3 separate regions of the Homo sapiens genome follow, and all the other regions are linked to region 1. Evidence: promoter capture Hi-C in 16 types of primary human blood cells and fetal thymus (Javierre and others, 2016). All regions are on one chromosome and are shown on one strand. The core of a region is centred on a gene start or on the middle of the fragment in contact, and the rest is flanking DNA. Distances in the headings are between cores, read along the strand shown. Region 1 holds the start of LEO1 (LEO1 component of Paf1/RNA polymerase II complex). Region 2 overlaps GNB5 (G protein subunit beta 5). Region 3 holds the start of BCL2L10 (BCL2 like 10).

Evidence for each region. The method cuts DNA at HindIII sites, captures the fragments that hold promoters and counts their contacts. A CHiCAGO score of 5 or more calls a contact.
Region 2: a fragment that was not itself captured here is called in contact with the fragment with the promoter of LEO1 in region 1 in 8 of 17 cell types (M0 macrophages, activated CD4 T cells, M1 macrophages and 5 more); the score reaches 7.0 in M0 macrophages.
Region 3: the fragment with the promoter of BCL2L10 here is called in contact with the fragment with the promoter of LEO1 in region 1 in 9 of 17 cell types (activated CD4 T cells, M1 macrophages, total CD8 T cells and 6 more); the score reaches 7.3 in activated CD4 T cells.

What each region holds. Positions count from the first base shown.
Region 1 is chr15:51,969,663-51,974,175 of GRCh38, forward strand. It overlaps LEO1 (LEO1 component of Paf1/RNA polymerase II complex), which reads right to left and starts at 2,116. Exons shown (of 12, transcript NM_138792.4): 1 at 2,026-2,116. The coding sequence starts at 2,083. It also overlaps a transcript of MAPK6 not described here. RefSeq lists enhancers at 1,233-1,809, 1,633-2,162, 1,810-2,385. The HindIII fragment of the contact is 6,227 bases long and covers 1-2,857 here.
Region 2 is chr15:52,170,215-52,174,727 of GRCh38, forward strand. The region is part of intron 3 of GNB5 (G protein subunit beta 5); the gene reads right to left. Among named protein-coding and RNA genes, the nearest start is that of CERNA1, 7.6 kb to the right of the region's middle. The HindIII fragment of the contact is 2,189 bases long and covers 1,120-3,308 here.
Region 3 is chr15:52,110,968-52,115,480 of GRCh38, forward strand. It overlaps BCL2L10 (BCL2 like 10), which reads right to left and starts at 1,808. Exons shown (of 2, transcript NM_020396.4): 1 at 1,271-1,808. The coding sequence starts at 1,759. It overlaps GNB5 (G protein subunit beta 5), which reads right to left. Exons shown (of 13, transcript NM_016194.4): 13 at 4,133-4,513. RefSeq lists a silencer at 1,655-1,814. The HindIII fragment of the contact is 9,003 bases long and covers 1-3,166 here.

The DNA.
Region 1 (4,513 bases), core at 866-3,365:
AAAACCTCATCTCTACTTAAAATACAAAAATTAGTAGGGTATGGTGGCAGGTGCCTGTAATCACAGCTACTCGGGAGGTTAAGGCAGGAGAATTGCTTGAACCCGGAGGCGGAGGTTGCAGTGAGCCAAGATTGTACCACTGCACTGCAGCCTGGGAGACAGACTGAGACTCCGTTAAAAAAAAAAAAAAAAAAAAAAAAGATGTTCAGCATCATTAGCCTTTGGGAAAGTGTAAACTGAAACCACAATGAGACACCACTTGATAACATCAAGGATGGCTACTTTAGAAACAAATAAAAACTTAAAATAACTGTTGGCAAAGATGTGGGGAAAGGGAACCCTGGTGCATTGCTGGTGGTAATGTAAAATGGCTCAACCACTATGGAAAACAGTTTGGCTGCTCCTCAAAATATTAAAGAATTACCATATGACTCTGCACTCCTACATAATACCCTCCTCCCAAAATTAAAAACAGGCACCCAAACATGTACATGAATTTATTTATTTTTTTGGAGACAGAGTCTCACTTTATCACCCAGGTTGAAGTGAAGTGATGCAATCTCAGCTCACTGCCAACCTCTGTCTCCTGGGTTCAAGTGATTCTCATGCCTCAGCCTTCTGAGTACCTGGGACTACAGGCACGCACGACCACACCTGGCTAACAGTTTGTATTTTTAGTAGAGACAGGGTTTCACCATGTTGCCCAGGCTGGTCTTCAACTCCTGAGCTCAGGCAAATCCGCCTGCCGGAACCAGGAATGTTTACAGTAGCACTATTCAAACAACCCAATGTCCATCAACAGATAAATGGATTAACAAATTTAGGGTGTGCACATTCAATGGAATATTATTAAATCATTAAAAATGAATAAAGTACTGATATGTGCTACAATGCCTTGAAGACATTATGCTAAGTAAAAGAAACCAGACACAAAAGACCACAATGCATGATTCAATTTATATGAAATTCCCAGAACAGATAAGTACAGAAACAATAGCAGACAGGGGTTGGAGGAAGGAGCATATGAGGAGTAAGTGCTTTATGAACAGTGTTTTATTTGGGGGTGATGAAAATAACAACTAGATATATGTTGTCTACAAGAGACTCACTTTACTTGGAGCCTAGAGGGTTGCAAGAATTCTGAACTTGGTCTTGGGTTCTCACTTCAAATAGCTCCTATTCATATTTCAAGTGCCCGTAGTCTCAACTACTTGGAGGCTGAGGCAGAAGGATGGCTTGAGCCCAGAAGTTCAAGGCCAACCTGAGCAACACAGTGAGACCCTGTCTCTAAAAAAGTAAACTTTAAAAAAACACCCACAATCCTGTGCCAGAAATAACTTCCAAGCAGCATGCACATACACTAATTCATTCATTTCATCAACAAATCCTTCATTCCTCCTCTCTGTACACAGACCCCATGCACTCCCCAATCTAACATCACAGACTCCGGAAATTCTGGAGTTTCTGCACAAGCTCTTAGAGAACACATTCTCTCCTATGTGAAACATCTATCTGTAACCCCATCCCATTATCCGTCCCAGACTCGTCATCCAGACATCTCAAGCTCCCTATCACACCATGCTCTGGTTTCATTCAAGACGGCATTCTGAGGCCCTCTGTAAATTCGCCCACCCCATCCCATATTCCTGCATTCATTTCCATTCATTCAAAAACAGCCCTTACTCTACGCTGGCCTGTGCAAGGCAAGGCGGAACAGGACTCCAACGTTCCTACCCGCGCTGCGCAGGCTCGCCTGCACTTCCACCCATGCCCCGCGCCCCTTTCGCTCCACAAGCTCCCAGGAACCGTCTGCTCCACCGACACCCAGAGCCTCGAGGCGCAGACTGTCTGACTCTCCATCCTGCCCGCCGGAGGAGGATGGCACCTCCGGGAGTGCAGGGGGCGCTGAGGCAGGAGTGGAGGAAACGCCACCTCTTGCCCGCGGCGCTGGAGCCTCCACGGTTGTCCGGCTCCCACAGCGGAAGGCCTGCCACGCACCCATCCTCCGAAGACCAGCGAACCCACCTTTACGCTCAGCTTCGCTGTCGGCGTCGCTCCCGAAGAGATCCTCCATATCCGCCATTATCGCTCACGTCCGCTGCTGCCTCGGTTAGGGGCAGCTCCCGGCCTCTCTTTACGGCACGGAACCACTGAAACACGACAGTGTCGCAAAGATTCGCCGAAGACACTCCTTTCCTTACGTGACCTAGTTTTCGCTCGCCCAGTGAACCTGTTCTCGCCTGGGTATGCATGGTATATAAGCCCGGCCATTTCGTCAATATCTGTTATTTGCCAGGATTCTTACCAGGGGGCGGGGGGGTCCTGCGTTCGGTTGCGGGTGTGGATGGGGTGGGCGGTGACTGGCGCTCTCTGGGGAAGGGCCTCTGGCTGGATTAAACCTATCGCGAGTCAGGATTGAAGCCCTTTGTTTCTTACTGAGCAGCTGTTCTCCAGTTATTTCATCCCAAACCCCTTTACCCTCTTAAAAATTGTTGAGACGGAGTCTCGCTCAGTCGCCCAGGCTGGAGTGCAGTGGCGCGATCTCGGCTCACAGCAACCTCCACTGTCCGGGTTCAAGCAATTCTAATTCCTCAGCCTCCCGAGTAGCTGGGACGACAGGCGCCCGCCACCACACCCGGCTAATTTTTTGTATTTTAGTAGACACGGGGTTTCACCGTGTTGCCCAGGCTGGTCGCAAACTCAGGAGCTCAGGCAATCCGCCCGCCTCGGCCTCCCAAAGTGCTGGGATTACAGGTACGGGTATTGATATTTACTGTATTCTTACTAATACGGTAATAAATTTTTAAGTTACTAATTCATTTAAAAATAATATACATGTTAACAAACAGCTTTTTTAAGCTTTAAATGACCATTTTTTTGGCCGGGCGCGGTCGCTCACGCCTGTAATCCCAGCACTTTGGGAGGCCGAGGCGGGTGGATCACGAGGTCAGGAGATCGAGACCATCCTGGCTAACACGGTGAAACCCCGTCTCTACTAAAATAAAAAAAATTAGCCGGGCGTGGTTGTGGGCGCCTGTCGTCCCAGCTACTAGGGAGGATGAGGCAGGAGAATGGCGTGAACCCAGGAGGCGGAGCTTGCAGTGAGCCGAGATCGCGCCACTGCACTCCAGCCTGGGCACGAGACTCCATCTCAAAAAAATAATAATAATAAAATAAAATAATTAAAAATAAAAACATTAGCCAGGCATGATGGCATGCATTTGTAGCCCTAGCTACTCAGGAAACTGAGAATGGAGGATCACTTGAGCCCAGGAGTTGGAGGCTGCAGTGAGCTATGATCACGCCACTTCACTCTAGCCTGAGTGACAGAGTAAGGCTCTGTTTCTTAGAAGAAAAAGTGAGAAAAGAGTACATCCTGTGTTACATTACCTAATTAGGCCATTATGAGAGTTTTGGTCTTGGACAAGCAACAATGAATATTTAGTTTGGAGATTATATGATATATATTTTTGTAGTAAACTTCAGTGCTTAACAGGGTCCAAATGGGTGGGACTGGGTATGTAATCATCAATCCTAGAGCTTTTGTGTATGAAGCGGATGTTGCAAGAGAAGATACATAGATAACCTGAAAACTATCTGGAATACTGGAAAAACAAGTATTCCATTTGACAGTGATTCAGTTTCATTTTCATTTAGAGTACTGTCCCTGAAAAGTACTTTGATTAAATTTATTTTCTTTTGATACAGTGTCTCTGTTGCCTAGGCTGGAGCGCAGTGGCGCCATCATAGCTCACTGCAGCCTCAAACTCCTGGCCTCAAGAGGTCCTCCTGCCTCGGCCTCCTAACACGTTGGGATTACAAGTATGGGCCACAGTGCCTGGCTAAATCTTAATAAATTGAATTACAGTTTGGTCTGGTGAGTCACCATGTCCATATTCCTGGCTATCAGAATAAACGTGTTTTTCCCATATGAATAGTATAAAACAAATCACTTCTGACTCTTGGACAGATTTTTTTGTTTATGTTTTGGCTACACTTTTTTTTTTTAAACAGAGTTTCGCTCTTGTTGCCCAGGCTGGAGTACAATGGCGTGATCTCAGCTCACTGCAACCTCCACCTCCCGGGTTCGAGTGATTCTCCTGCCTCAGCCTTCTGAGTAGCTGGGATTACAGGCATGCGCCACCATATCCGGTTAATTTTGTATTTTTAGTAGAGATGGGATTTCATCATGTTAGTCAGGCTGGTCTCAAACTCCTGACCTCAGGTGATCCACCCGCCTTGGCCTCCCAAAGTGATGGAATTACAGGCCTGAGCCACCGTGCCCAGCCTTGTTTTGGTTACACTTTATGCTGACCATTGCTCTTCTACTCATTATCTTTCTTCATAAAGGATATAATACATGAGATTGGACTTAAGGTAAATCAATCACAATCATTTTGCAGTATTTCTTACCTGAGGTTATCACTTTGATTGAAGTTTATTTTATTTTTAATACTTTTTTAAAAACTTAAAAAAATATATAGAAACAAGGTCTCACTATGTTGCCTAGACT
Region 2 (4,513 bases), core at 964-3,463, 200 kb after region 1:
GTATATATCCAAAGGAATATAAACCAATCTATTAAAAGATACATGCACGAATGTTCATTGCAGCACTATTTACAATATCAAAGATGTGAAATGAACCCAAATGGTCATCAATGATAGACTGGATAAAGAAAATGTGGTACATACATACCATGGAATACTATGCAGCCATAAAAAGGAATGAAATAATGTCCTTTGCAGGGACATGGAAGCCATTATCCTCAGCAAACTAAGGCAGAAACAGAAAACCAAACACCACATGTTCTCCTTTATAAGTAGGAGCTGAACGATGAGAACAAATGGACACATCGGGGGAACAACACACACTGGGGCCTGTCAGGGGCATAGCAGGAGGGACAGCATCAGGAAGAATAGCTAATGGATGCTGGGCTTAATACTTAGGTGATGGGTTGATCTGTGCAGCAAACCACATGACACATGTTTACCTATGTAACAAAACTGCACATCCTGCACATGTACCCTGGAACTTAAAAGCTGAAGAAAAAAAAAAAAACCCTCTCAAACCCCTGTATGGAAGGAAAACATTAATAGTCACATTTATCTCACTTGTATTTGTCAGAGATTTGTGAATTGCCTTAAAAAAATTCATGAGGCTGGGCGTGGTGGCTCATGCCTGTAATCCCAGCACTTTGAGAGGCTGAGGCAGGCAGATCACCTGAGGTCAGGAGTTTGAGACCAGCCTGGACAACATGGCTAAACTATAAAAAAAAAATTAGCCAGGCATGGTGGTGTGCGACTATAATCCCAGCTACTTGGGAGGCTGAGGCAAGAGAAGCACTTCAATCTGGGAGGTGGAGGTTGCAGTGAGCCATGATCACGCTACTGGACTCCAGGTGAGCAATAAAGTGAGACTCTATCTCCAAAAAAAAAAAAAAAAAAAAAAATTCATGAGCCACAAAAAATTCTACCCTGAATTCCCTAATTAAAAGTTTGGAGAATTAAGTTATGGGACCATCTTTAAGATTGAATACTGTAAGGTTCCATATAAGAATTTTTAATGATGACATTAAAAGAAATGTAAATGACATGGGGAGCTACTCAATCCATTGTGCTGAATGTTAAAACTGGGCTCAAATCCTCTATCTAGTACAGTCCCTAGTAAGCTTATAAATATATACACAAACATGGAAACATAAGCTATGAAATACATGAAAATATTAAAAATGGCTACCTCTAGGTATTGAGATTATGAATGACTTGTTTTCTTCTATATTTCTAGATTTTTCCACAGTGAGCATTTGTTTATTGGGAAAGTACTCTAAACACCCTTGCATTAGCCAGCTCGAGTATAACAGTGAATGCAGAGAAAGGAAGGGGAAAGGAAATGAAGGCAGGTTAGCTTTCTGCTGCCTCTGATGGCTGCAGGAGGCATGTGGCCAAACAGCAGGGAAGAGGATGACTGTAGAGAAACCGACTTCTGTAAGCGTCGGTACACAGATCACATTTTCTTAGAATATGAAAAAAGTCAAGGAATATGTTTGCTCCAGGCTAATCTAGAAAGTTGGTTTTCCTAGATTTTTCCCTAAGCCATAAATCAGAATAGTCCAAGACTCTAAGCCATAAAGCATTCAATAATAAAACTTTTCAAAAAATTACATTTAGAATAGATAGAAAAGTTAATGGTATCAGATAATACATCCTTCTATCAAATTTAGTCTAGATTTGTACTCAGAGAAACGACATAAACTTGCTTTGTTCCTTAACAATATTAGCATCTGCCTCAAGGACCTGGGAATTGGAGTAAAGCTCCCACACAGCCCCAGGAGGCTGCTGTGCCTGTTGGCTGAAATGAACACCATGTCCTTCCTGGTCTGTCTGGTTTGAGCCTGTCTTGCAGATTATTCCTCAGTTTAATTTCAAGTTAAAGACTCTTTAGAGTTGAATTGTTTTCCCCTTTCTCTTTTTATTTTTTATTTTTTGAGACAGGATCTTATTCTGTCACACAGGCTTGAGTGCAGTGGTGCAATCATAGCTCTTTGCAGTCTCAACCTCCTGGGCTCAAGTGATCCTCCCACCTCAGCCTCCCGAGTAGCTGGGACCACAGGTACACACCATCATGCCTGGCTAATTTTTATTTTTTTATTTTTATTTTTTTGAGAGTTGAGGTCTCACTATATTGCCCAGGCTGGTCTTCAACTCCTGGGCTCAAGTGATCTTTCCGTTTTAGCCTTCCAAAGTGAGCCACCATGCCCGGCCTCCTTTTATTCTTGATCTTGACTCCCATTCTAGTACTCATTTTTCCCTTATTATAAAAAGCAGTAAATGTGCTGGGTGCGGTGGCTCATGCCTGTAATCCCAGCACTTTGGGAGGCAGAGGTAGGTGGATCGCTTGAGCCCAGGAGATCAAGACCAGCCTGGGCGACATGGAGAAACCTCGTCTCTACAAAAAAATGCAAAAATTAGCCAGGTGTGGTGGCACACACCTGTAGTCCCAGCTACTTGAGAGGCTGAGGTAGCCAGGAGTTTGAGGCGGCAGTGAACCATGATCGGGCCACTGTACTCCAGCCTGTGTGACAGAGTGAGAACCTGGCTCAAAAACAGTAAATGTATAGATGGGTATAAAATGAAAAGCACCTTCACTTTCCATACCCCTCTCTAGCGATAACAAGTTCCTTGCGTATCCTTCCAGACATTTACTGCATATACAAGCACCTCTTGTTTGTTAAGATCATGTTATATATACTGTTTGGCACTTTGCTTTTTATTTTCTTTTACTGAATAAAAAAAATCGGCACCTTTTCATACGTGGATTTACTTTTCTTTCTTTTCAATGCCAATCTTTTTTTTTCATTTGATAAATATTTACTTAGCCTAGCTCACTGTTGTAGGAGGGTGATCCACAGTAAATGATACAAATAAAGTACCTGCTGCCAAGGTACTTACATTCTAGTAAGGGAGACATAAAATCAACCAATCATCAATCAGTCAACAAAGAATAAATGAATGAAAGTAATTTTAGAGAGTGATGAAGTGAACAATGAAAGGGAGCTGAAATTGTAGGAAGTTGGGACAGACATGGCCATTTTAGATTAAGGAGTCTCCATGCTGCCCAGGCTGGTCTTGATCTCCTGGGCTCAAGTGATCCACCTGCCTCTGCCTCCCAAAGTGCTGGGATTACAGGCATGAGCCACCGTGCCCAGCACATTTACTGCTTTTTATAATAAGGGAAGGTGCCTCTGAGGAGGTGGAATATGAACCGAGACAGAATATATGAAGTAAACTAGGCAAAGAAGTGGGAGAACATTCCAGAAGAGAGAATACAACATGTCTGAAGGCTGAAGGCAAGAACAAGCTTGATGGTCTGAAGCTCACCAAGATGGCCAGTGTGACTGGCGATAGTGAGCAAAGCATAGACTGATCCAAGGTGAAGTGGAAGAGGTAGACGGAACTAGGTCAGTTAGGGAGACTGTTGGCAAATCTCAACTTTCTAAGAGAAGGTCTAGCATGGTGAGGAGGACAGCTGTCCTGGGAGCTTGAATCTTCTCTACTCCCTATTCAACATTAGAGTAGCTACAAAATCTTAGGGAAATCCCTTCACCCCTCCCTGGATCTCAGCTGCTTTTTCATCTATAAGGGACAGGGCTGTTAGGAAGAGAAGGAAATGTTTTGTGCTGGAAGACTGAAGCTGAAGCAGGGGAACCCTCCTGATCTAAAAGCTGTGTGATAGGCTAAATAATGGCCCCCAAAGGTATCCACATCCTAATCCCCAGAACCAGTGGCGATACTATCTTACGGCAAAAGGGACTTTCTAGATGTGATTAAGTTAAGGATCTTGAGATGGGGAGATTATCCTGGATTATCCAGGTGGGCCCAACATAATCACATGGATCCTAATAAGAGGGAGCAGGTGGGTTAGAGTCAGAGAGAGAGGTGACCACAGAAGCAGTGCTCAGAATCACGTGAGCCTTGGGCCAAGAACATGGGCAGCCCCAAGAAGCTGGAAAAAGCAAGAAATGGATTCTCCCCTAAAGCTTCCAGAAGGACCTGCCCACCCATTTTAGTCACCGATTATAGACCTCCAGCACTATAAGAAAACAAATGTATGTTATTGCAAGCCACTAAGTTTGTGGAAATTTGTACAGTAGCAATCAGAAATGAATGCACACTGTAACCATATGATTCTAAAATGCCTTGGAATCAAGCGAGGTAGTACTCGCCTGTGGTAGAAGATAAGCAGAAAGTGACAAGGAGAAAGCTCTGGGGAGAAGCAGGAAGCTCTGTGGGAGGAAGGGGAAAATGGGGCTTGGGGCTGTGGAGTTTGATGTGAGCTGGCTTCCCATCAGAGGACCCATATAAGCTATTAATACTTCCTATATTTAATGTTGGCCAAGGGTCTGGCTTGGGGATGAGGGCCAAAGGGATGGAGGTGAAGAACTCAGTGTCTGAAGAGAGGAAACCATTTTTTCCTCAAAGTTTATGCTATACAATTTTAATATGTTGCCTTAAGCTACCTTAAGGCAAGAATTTGGGCAAGTCCAAGCCAATAGGAGGTAAC
Region 3 (4,513 bases), core at 558-3,057, 140 kb after region 1:
AAGGCAGGAGTTCCTGCTAACACACCTCCCACTCCCTTTCCCTTCTCAGATAGAACCCAACTTGTCACTATAGAAAGTCTAAATGGGGGCCAGGTGAGGTGGCTCACGTCTGTAATCCCAGAACTTTGGGAGGCTGAGGTAGACAGATCACGAGATCAAGAGATCGAGATCTTGGCCAACATGGTGAAAGCCCATCTCTACTGAAAACACACACACACACACACACACACACACACACACACACACACACAGTTAGCCAGGCTTGGTGGGGCGCGCCTGTAGTCCCAGCTACTCCGGAGGCTGAGACAGGAGAATCCTTGAACCCGGGAGGCAGAGGTTGCAGTGAGCTGGGATCCACCACCGCACTCCAGCCTGGCCACAGAGCGAGACTCCGCCTCAAAGAAAAAAAGAAAAAGGTCTAAATGGAAACTGCCCCCAGGAGGCTACATTTCGGATCAAAAAACTTGCTGGTTTTAATAGTTTGGCTATAGGTATCCGATAACATGGGCCACTTCAGTCATTGAATCAACGCCAATAAGGTGGTGGGGAAAGAAATGGGGTCTAGCTCAGAGCCCCCAGAGGCATGCAGTGGGCTCATCACCAGGTGGCTTTCCTTGATCATCAGCTGCAGGGCAAGGGCCTGTCCCTCTAACCTTGACCACAGAGATGAAGGCTTGCAGCTGAAAGCCAGGGGCCTAGAACGTTCTCACCGAGGACTGGGTGCAGAGGACTAGAAATTAAGGAACCTTGGGTCAGCGCCACCACTGGGCGACCACCACACTCCACAACCTCTCTGGCCAGGCTGAGAGGCGTAGGGGGTTGTGATCAATGGGTCTGAGTCTCTCCAAAGGCGCATTTAATAGGCGAAGGAGAAAAACACCCCACCTGGCTGGGGCCCCGCCATTGCTGACTTCATTGGTTGGGGATTTCTATAGGAGCAAAACGTTCAGACCTAACGTGGGTGCCCCCCTAAAAGTCCCCGACGGCTAAGGCCAGGGCAAGGTCCAAGTGAGCAGACCTAAGCCTGCGCAGCTGCTTCGGAACGGTTCACGGCCGTCTAAGAAGGCCGATTTCTGCCGGCCTTTCTGCCAGGGGAGGAGAAACCCCAGACTTCACAGCGAACGTTCCAGGCCCGCTGAAACGAGCCTTTCTGCTTTCACGAAACCTCGTTCCAGGGGCCTGGCGCGGTGGGTTCCTCACCGTGCCAGCCTCGTGGGCGCTTCCCGGCTGCCCGTCCCGCCCCGTGTCCCGGTGTCCGCCGCGTGCTCACCCAGCCGCCCTGAGCCTGCAGCCAGGCGCGGTGCTGCCCCATGAGCCGCGAGCTCAGCAAGGCCACCAGGCGCTGGCAGTCCCGGGCGACGTCGCCCTCCTGCTCCTTTAGCCGCGGCTGGAAGCCCCACTTCTTCCACCGGGCGGTCACCAGCGGCCCTCTCTCCAGCAGCGTCCCTGCGAAGGTCACGAGCGTCACCACTCTGCCCCAGGTGGGGCCGGGGCTGTCGGAGAGCACGGAATCCGCCATCAGCGCCACCAGCTCGAAGCGGTTCCCGGGGTAGCCGAGGTAGGCGGAGAAAAAGGACCGGTGAATCTGCCGTAACCTGGCGGCCGCGGAGCGCAGCACGGCGGCCTCGGGCGTGGATGGCGCCGGCTCGGGGGTGCCGGGTTCCCGGGCGCAGTACCCCAGGTAGTCGGCCAGCAACAGCTCGGTGCGCTCCCGCAGCGGGTCGGCCATGGTGGTGCGCTCCCGCAACTGGTCAACCATGGTCCGGCCTCTGCTGGGGGGCCGGGCCTTCGCTGGTTTTCTTGGCCCGGCCGCGCCTCCCCCAGGGTAGGGCTGCCGTGCCCCGCCCCGGCCCCCGGCCCCCGGCCCCCGGTATATTGTTTTTCAGGACTGAGAGAAGAGCCTTTGATGGGAATCCCACCTGCACCTGTTCCAGTCCCCAAGGCAAGGCCTGGTGGTGCGCACGTGTTCGCGTAGCAATCAGATGCACTGTGAGACTCGGGTTATTTAGCTCCAGTGGCGCGATCTTGGTTCACTGCAAGCTCCGCCTCCCAGGTTCACACCGTTCTCCTGCCTCAGCCTCCCGAGTAGCTGGGACTACAGGCGCCCGCCACCATACCTGGCTAATTTTTTTGGATTGTTTAGTGGAAACGGGGTTTCACCGTGTTAGCCGGGATGGTCTCGATCTCCTGACCTCGTGATCCGCCCGCCTCTGCCTCCCAAAGTGCTGGGATTATAGGCGTGAGCCACCGCGCCCGGCCATCTAATATTTATATTAAACTTTCTCAGTTCATATTACTCCGTGGCTTCTTTCTCCTGATTGGATCCAGACTGATGCAGAATGGATACTAGCAGTGGTATTTCTGGGGGTTCAGGGGTCTGGAGCATGTTGAAATAGCCCTCCCAGGGTGAAAGATGAGTTGCTGCATCTTGCATCACTACAAAAGAGGCACGGCACTTGGCAGCTGTCTTAGTCTGTCCAGGCGGCTATAGCAGAATGCCATAGACTGGGTGACTTATAAATAAAGGCATTTATTTCTCACAGTTTTGTTGGCTAAAAAGTCCAAGGTTGAGGCCCTGGCAGGTTCTGTGTCTTGTAAGGACCTGCTTCCTGGTTCATAGACAACAGGCTTCTTGCTGTGTCCTCACATTGCAGTAGGTGTGGAGTAGCTTTCCGGGGTCTCTTTTATAAGGACAATAATCTCATTCGTGAGGGCTCCACCTTTGTGATCTAATACCTCCCAAAGGCCCCATCTCTGAATACCATCACACTGGGGGTTAGGATTTCAACATATGAATTTTGGGGGACACAGCCTGGAACAGTAAGCCATTTTGGACTTTGAAGGCAACATATACTGTGTTTGTGCTATTTCAACCCAATTGACAGGCTGGTGGATTGAGGAGCAGAATAAGAGAAGACTCTGCAGAAGGTTCAGGCTGCAGTAAAGCTGCCCTACCACTTGGGTCTTGTGATCCAACAGATCCAGTGGGACTTTGTCCAACAGGGATGCTGTATGGAGCCTCTGGCAAGCACTGACAGGAGAGAGTACAGACCTCTAGAATTCTAAAGTAAATCTAGAACCTCTTCTGAAGATAACTACTCTCCTTCTGAGAAGCAGGTTCTGCCTTGCTACTAGGCCTTGATAGAGGCAGAATGCCTGACCATGAAGCTTGAGCTCCCATCATGAACTGGATGTCATCTGACCTACGTAGCCATAAAATTGGATGTATACAGCAGCCACCTATCATCAAATGGAAATGGTGTATTAGAAACAGCCCAGGCAGGTTCAGAAGGTATAAGTAAATTGTATGAGCAGGCGGCTCAGACTCTTCCAACATCAACTCCTGTTGCTTTGCCTCCTCTCCCTCATTCTACAACTATGGCTTCTTGGGATGCTGCCTATGTCCAGTTGACTGAGGGAGAAAAACCTCCAGCCTGGATTATAGATGGGTCTGTATGATGTGCTGGTACCACATGAAAGAGAACAGCTGCAGTATTCACTCACACTCACTCAGGGGTGACTGTGAAGGGCAGTGGTGAAGGAGAATCCTTCCAGTGAGCAGAAACTCAAGGCTGTCCACTATGTCTGGAGTGAGAGATGGCCAGAATACAGACCTAAATTGATTCATGGACAGTCGCTGATGGTTTAGCTGGATGGTCAGGGCCTTAAAAAGAACAGGACTGGAAGATTGGTGACAAGAAAATCTTGGAAAGAGATATGTGGCTGAATCCCTCCGAATGGGCAGACTGAAGATATCTGCATCTCACCTGAATGCCCACCAAAGGGCATCCACTGCAGAGAAGACCCTGAATCAGATGGACAGAATTACATGCTCTGTGGCTGTCAGCCAGCCTCTCTATGCAGCTGCTGTGGTGTCTGCTCAACGGGCCGATGAACAAAGAGCTCTTGGCAGCAGGGACAGAGGATATGTATGGGTCCAACAACATGGAATTCTCCCTCCAAAGGCTGAGCTGGCTGGTGCTTCTGCTGAGTGCCTAATCTGCCAAAGCAAATGATTTCTTACAGTGAACTAAATAAGTGTTGTTAGAATATAAATTTCTGTACATCAAATTCCCATTTGAACTGGTTTTGACGTCTTACTGGTTTCCTTATTAATCAGTGAGTTAAAAGCTTGGATACATGTTCATGTTTTATTTGCAAGACAGTCATGATTTTACCTTTTTGTACATTAAACTTTAGCAGCAAGAACATTGTTTTCTCTTAGATTTGCAGTAGCTTTGGGGTAAATGATAAATCCTCTGGAACTGCCATTGGTAACTCAACAATGATGAAAAGAACTAAACAACAAATGAATAAATTAACCTCAACATAGAATTTCCAGTCCACACAATATGAGGCAGTTTGTAATAAGACTCGGTGAAAATCCTGTCTCTGCAACTTGGAAGCTGTGCAGCTATGGGCAAGTTATTCAACTCTCCTAACCTCAATCTCCCCATCTAAAAATGGGGCATCACGGGGCTGTCACAAGGATTACATGAATCGGTATATACAA